Linked DNA regions of Homo sapiens: region 2 is linked to region 1. The links are contacts of gene promoters, found by promoter capture Hi-C in blood cells and fetal thymus (Javierre and others, 2016). All regions are on one chromosome and are shown on one strand. The core of a region is centred on a gene start or on the middle of the fragment in contact, and the rest is flanking DNA. Distances in the headings are between cores, read along the strand shown.

Evidence for each region. Contacts are between HindIII fragments. The CHiCAGO score rates a contact against its expected background, and 5 or more counts as called.
Region 2: a fragment that was not itself captured here is called in contact with the fragment with the promoter of EDRF1 in region 1 in 2 of 17 cell types (total CD8 T cells and total B cells); the score reaches 8.3 in total CD8 T cells.

The regions. Positions count from the first base shown.
Region 1 is chr10:125,717,707-125,720,973 of GRCh38, reverse strand. EDRF1 (erythroid differentiation regulatory factor 1) reads right to left here and starts at 1,265. Exons shown (of 25, transcript NM_001202438.2): 1 at 1,059-1,265. The coding sequence starts at 1,166. It overlaps EDRF1-DT (EDRF1 divergent transcript), which reads left to right and starts at 1,481. Exons shown (of 5, transcript NR_033847.1): 1 at 1,481-1,552. RefSeq lists enhancers at 382-1,364, 1,480-1,559, 2,040-2,149. The HindIII fragment of the contact is 5,171 bases long and covers 1-2,063 here.
Region 2 is chr10:121,922,194-121,925,395 of GRCh38, reverse strand. ATE1 (arginyltransferase 1) reads left to right here. Exons shown (of 12, transcript NM_001001976.3): 2 at 1,067-1,130; 3 at 2,985-3,047. Among named protein-coding and RNA genes, the nearest start is that of ATE1, 4.2 kb to the left of the region's middle. The HindIII fragment of the contact is 223 bases long and covers 1,139-1,361 here.

The sequences.
Region 1 (3,267 bases), core at 16-2,515:
GCTAGAAAATGGACCACCCACATCTCTTTTAAAATGTATTCATGTAAAGTGGAGAAGCAGAAACCAAGGAGACTCAATGGTATCATGTTAACTAGATGCAAACTTTAGTAAAGCCTATTTTCAGTATTAAAGATGTATTTTAATTCTTTTTTTTTTTTTTTTTGAGACGCAGTCTTGCTTTGTCGCCCAGGCTAGGGTGCAGTGGAGCAATCATGGCTCACTGCAACCTCGGCTTCTGGGGTTTACGCCATTCTCCTGCCTCAGCCTCCCTAGTAGCTGGAATTACAGGCGTGCACTACCACGTCCGGCTAATTTTTGTATTTTTAGTAGAGACAGGGTTTTGCCATGTTGGCCAGGCTGGTCTCGAACTCCCCGACCTCAGGTGATCCACCCACCTCGGCCTCCCAAAGTGCTAGGATTACAGGCGTGAGCCACCGCGCCCGGCCAAAGATGTATTTTAATTTTAATAACACATCATTCATAAAATAGTCTGGTAGAACATTTGGGCTTTTTGTTTTAATGCAAATATTTAGTAATCGATGCATCGGTTCATGCATGCATGCATGGTTCAAATACTCTTGAGTCTCTAACTTCATAGAAAGGCATTGGGGGTTCGTTCCTCACAGCCTGCACTTGCACACTCCCAAAGCAAGTTCGGCGTCTGGGTTCAATATTCTAACCTTTCACGCAGTACCTCTTCTGCATGGCAAACATTTTACACCCTTTGTGAATTAGTTCGGTCTCATTCTCGGCGAGTCACTACCTGGCACCGTTTCTTCCCTCCTGCTTTGCACGACTGTGCCACGTTTTGGAACGACATATTTACATGTACCCTCCTTGAGAGGAAAGATCGTATCTAATTCACCTGTCGGCTACCAGAACTGCTTTTAATACGAATACCTGCCGACTGGAGCATGGACTTCAACTCCCTGTTTTGGGGGTGTCAGGGAAACATGGAGAAGCCTCCAGAATCTGCCGGGAACCGTGGCATCCCTCCCCGGTGGAGCGGGTCCTCCGCTCCCACATCCCTGGCAGGTCCCCCTCCGCGGAGGACTCACCTGTGCAGAAGATTCCTCGGATTCTCCCTGGGACAGGAGGCTGAGCCCTCCTCGAGCGGCGGCCCCGGCCGGCGGACCCTCGGCTCCGGCCTCCTTGGCATCCCCCATCACTTCGATCCAGGGCAGGCGATACGACGGGGGAGCGGAGGAGCAGCAGCAGCAACGCAGGCCCAAAGCAGGGTAAGCGCCAGAGACGCTCCGCGGACCGCACTTCCGGTCTCTGCCAGGAAGAAGTAGCTGTGACTCGCCATTAAATCTCGCGATCTTTGTCCCGAAGGCCCGGCCCCGCCTCCCGCTGCGGGTGCCACCTTCGCGGCCAGGGCGGGAATTGTAGTGCGCCTGCGCTTGTCCGAACCTCTTCGGGAGACTACTTCTCGCGGTATCTGACTCCTAGGCTCCGCCCTCTGCACGCCGCTCACGGTATCTGACGCTCAGGCTCCGCCCCCTGCATGTCTTTGTTGGCAAACAGTTCTGGGGGTCGTCCGATCCTGCAGGTAGTGTCCGCGTGGGAGGGGAGGTGCAGCCGTCAGCGCTGCCGGCGGCTCCCGTTACGTGAATTAGTGAGAGGTTCAAACTTCTTCCCCAGGCTTCAGTGTCACATCTTTTCACACGGGCACCCCGAGGGCCCGGACTGGAAAGGCGAGCCAGCCATCTCGAGACTGGGCGCTCCTGCCCGCCTTTTAGTGCCCATGTGGCCCCATCCTGGGTGTGGGAGCGGCGGGGCTTCCGGGGAGGGCGCTGGGACGCGCGGACGAGGCCCTCCCCGTTTAGGGAATGGGTGGCTTTCGGAGTCTTCTGGGGGCCCGGCATGCCCGCTGCTTGCGGGGCGTCCCAGGTGGTGCAGGACCCGTGAGACGCTGAACCTGGGGCCTCGTAACGCCTAGGTTTCCATTCGGGCGCTCTGGATGGGTCCGAGACTCGGCATTTCTCACAGGTTCCCAGGAAACGATGCCAGCGCTTTGAGTAGCGAAGAGGTGGAGAAATAGCCCGGGCCGTTTGCAAGCTTTGAAGGTCCAGGCTCTCTTTCACACTCCTCAGTGTCATCTCAAACTGTCAAACGCAGCCACATCCGTTATACAATACATGTTTTGTAGTAAAAGTGTTTTGTTGTGCCGTAAGATACAGAAAGTGTTTTTAAAAATTAACTTGGCTCTTGCAATTTGGCTGTCTCAATTTGTAATTCACGTTTGGCTCTTACAACTCACTGTCCTGTCCGTTTTCAGGAATGCTCCTGATGAGTAAGCATTCAACTCACAAATTGCTTTCAAATGTAACAAAACAATTTTATGAATTAAATTTAACAGGCCGGGCGCGGTGGCTCACGCCTTTAATCCCTGCACTTTGGGAGGCCGAGGTGGGCAGATTGCCTGAGGTCAGGAGATCGAGACCAGCCTGACGAACAGGGTGAAACCCCATCTCTACTAAAAATACAAAAATTAGCCAGATGTGGTGGTGGGCGCCTGTAATCCCAGCTACTAGGGAGGCTGAGGCAGGAGAATCGCTTGAACCTGGGAGGCAGAGGTTGCAGTGAGCAGAGATGGCAACACTGCGCTCCAGCCTGGGCGATAGTGAGACTCTGTCTTAAAAAAATAATAATAGTGAATTAAATTTAACAGTTAATTTGATATAATAGTGTATTTTGTAGACATTTACTTCAACATGTATTGATTTTGATTTTTATCATTTCATTTGAATATTGCAGCCAATAATTCTTTTTTGGTTTTTGCAAGTTATGCATTGTTTTTTATGGTGAAAAGTTGAACATAATATCTAACACTAGGAGGAGGATAGTCAAATTTGGTTTTGGTAGAAAATAAACCCTGTGCAACCATAAACTTGTTTTTCAGGAATATTTAAGAACATTTAAATTGCATATCATATAATGTTAAGTGATAAGTGAAATTTTAAAAAGCCAATATGCAGCCTAGCGCGGTGGCTCACGCCTGTAATCCCAGCACTTTGGGAGGCAGATGCGGGTGGATCACGAGGTCAGGAGATCGAGACCATCCTGGCTAACACGGTGAAACCCCGTCTCTACTAAAAATACAAAAACAAAATTAGCCAGGTTTGGTGGCAGGCACCTGTAGTCCCAGCTACTCAGGAGCCTGAGGCGGGAGAATGGTGTGAACCCAGGAGACGGAGCTGGCAGTGAGCCGAGATTGCACCACTGCACTCCAGCCTGGGCAGCAGAGCGAGACTCCGTATAAAA
Region 2 (3,202 bases), core at 1-2,500, 3.8 Mb after region 1:
GAGTGTGGAGTGCAATGGCTCGATCTCGAGTCACTGCAACCTCCGCCTCCTGGGTTCAAGCGATTCTCCTGCCTCAGCCTCCCAAGTAGCTGGGATTACAGGCATGTGCCACCATTCCCGGCTAATTTTGTGTTTTTAGTAGAGATGGGGTTTCACCATGTTGGCCAGGCTGGTCTCAAACTCCTGACCTCAGATGATCTGCCCATCTTGGCCTCCAAAAGTGCTGGGATTACAGGCGTGAGCCACTGTGCCCAGCTGAGTTACTTTCAGTTCTTACACTTAGAAGGAATATTGTTACATACTTTTCTCCAATTTTTGATGCTCAAGACTGTACTGTAAATATATACCTGTATATAAATCAGGAGAACTAATAAGCACAAAACATTTTGCTAAGTTTTCTGAAGAGACCAGCATGTTAAATCATTGGGGATATTTATTAAAGTTTGAAGGTCTGATGCAGTCTGATTGCAGTGAGGACTTAAATTTATGCTGTCATAGAGACTATTGACTAATCCTCAAATAAATATAATTAACTTCGATGTGTTTTTTTGAATGAAAATATATATAGTGTCATTCTTTATTTGTGCTGTGTGTATGCCCAACTAACAGCTGTGAAGTATGTACAAACTTTTCATTTATCCAATATGAGTGTTTTGGAATTTTAACCTAAACACTCCTATTTTTTTTTTTTTTTTTGAGATGGAGTCTCACTCTGTCGCCAGGGCTGGAGTGCAGTGGCGTGATCTTGGCTCACTGCAACCTCCGCCTCCCGAGTTCATGTGATTCTCCTGCTGCAGCCTCTTGAGTAGCTGGGATTACAGGCGCCCGCCACTATGCCCAGCTAAATTTTTGTATTTTTAGTAGAGATGGGGTTTCACCATGTTGGCCAGGCTGGTCTTGAACTCCTGACCTTGTGATTTGCCCGCCTTGGCCTCCCAGAGTGCTGGGATTACAGGCATGAGCCACCGTGCCCGGACACACACTCCTATTTTTAAACCTCACACTTTGAATTTAAAAAAGAAAAAAGGTTACCCTGCCGTAATTAACACACTACTTATTTTTTCAGGCATGTGGGCACATTCCATGACAGTACAGGATTATCAGGATCTCATAGACCGAGGATGGCGAAGGTAAAGCTTCCAGATACAAAGAGACTTCCTACTGTTACTCAGGTTCTTGAAAAATACAGCATGCCTTTGAAATGCTTTCCTGTTGGAAAGAGGTTTAAGAAAAATTTTTATTATATTCTTTTATGTAGTGATTTTTTGTCTCCTTTTTAAAAAACTTTGTTAGGAAAATGTCAAATATCTATAAAAGCAGAGAGTACATTAGAATGAACCTCAAGTACCTATCACTAAGCTTCAGCAGTTATTAACGTTCTGCCAATCATGTTTGATTCTCCTGCTCCACCTTTTAATATTTAACAGCAAATTACATCAGTAGGTTATTATGACATTTATCCTATCAATAGATAGGCAATAAGTATGTATCTCTAAGAGAGAGGTCTTTTTTTCTTTTTAACTTATCCACAATGCTGTATCACACCTTACAAAATTAATAAAAATTCTTTGATGTTACCTGTTACCTACTTTTTATTAGATTTTCCAGATTGTCTCAAAAATGTCTTCTTTAACAGTTTATTTGGATAAGGATTTCCTTAAAGTCCACACATGGCCTGTTTTGAGTAGTTATTTTTATGTGGATGATTTTTAAGTAACTCTTAGGTAAAGTTCCTTGTGTAAATATAAGTAATATTAAATACTGTACGCTAATACTTGCCAAAGACGTGGGATTGGGAGCACCAGCTGAAATATCACAACTTTCCTTAAACTTAATGAGATTCAAAAGGTAGACATAGGTCAGATTTTAAAGGACTTCACATGCCATGATAAGGAACTTTTTTTTTTAGAGACATGGTCTCGCTCTGTTGCCCAGGCTAGAGTCGCTCTCTTGCCCAGGCTAGAGTACAGTGCCATCATCATAGCTCACTGTAACCCCAAATTCCCACACTCAAGTGATCCTCTTGCCTCAGCCTCTGCAGTGGCTAGGACTACAGGTGTGCATCACAACACCTGGCTAATTTTTCAGTTTTTTGTAAGATCTTGGCTATGTTGCCCGTGCTGGTCTCGAACATCTGGTTGCAAGTGTTCTTCCAGCTTAGCTTTTCAAAGTGTTGGGATTATAGGTATGAACCACCATGCCTGGCCAGAACTTTTTAGAAGGCAGTCATGGAAGGATTTTATGGTAAGAGAGAAATGTGAAGGAATTTGTTTTAGAAAAGATTGTTCAGATGGCTGAGAGGTATTTGAGGGGGGGTCATAGAGGCAGGAAGATGAGTTCAAAGGTTATTGCGCTATCCAGATGTGCGATGATGAGGACTGTCACCTTAGTGGCAATGGTGATAGAGAAGAGGGGACAATTTAGGATAGGGTTTAAAATGAAGGAAAGCTTGCTAATAGGATATAGAGGTGAATTCCAGGGAGGAGTTTAAAATGACTCCCAGGTCTCTGACTTGAGAACAGAATGAACAGTTCTGTTAGTACCATAGACCTGGAATGCATGGAAAGAAGCGGGTTAGTTTTGGGGTACTCCGTGCTGGTGCATGTGGAATACCCAAGTGTGGTTGTCACAGGCATCACATACATGAGTCCCACAGCATCGTGGGCATTTCTCTCATTGCCCTTGTGGTATTGGGGATTGGTGGCAGGTGAAGGCAGAGCAGGGGTGGCAGATGCTGGTGAGAGGGGAACTGAGATGATTGGCCGTGGGGTACACAAGTAAAGCTTTAGGAAATAAAAGGCAGGGTTCTAAACTTTGCTACACGCACTTTGAAGATTATTTGGCTTATGAAGAGTAATTAAACCTACATGCATTTCTACAATGTTGATTAGATTTTTAACCTTAATTTAATGCTCCTGTGCTAGGCTGTTTTGGTGCAAGTGAAAAATATATAAGACATTAACAAACTATTTTTATAATTTTAGAAGTGGAAAATATGTGTACAAACCTGTCATGAATCAAACATGTTGTCCTCAGTACACAATAAGGTAAGAATTTTAATTAGTAGAAAGAGGATTTATAGTATGAAGATTGTGTATAATATTTTAGTAGTCTCTTGTGCTTTTTTAATGTTTATTTCCGCTCTAGGTAGATGTCCTTTAAAAGGAAAAGTAAATGAGTTATGTCTTTTCTTCATACTGAT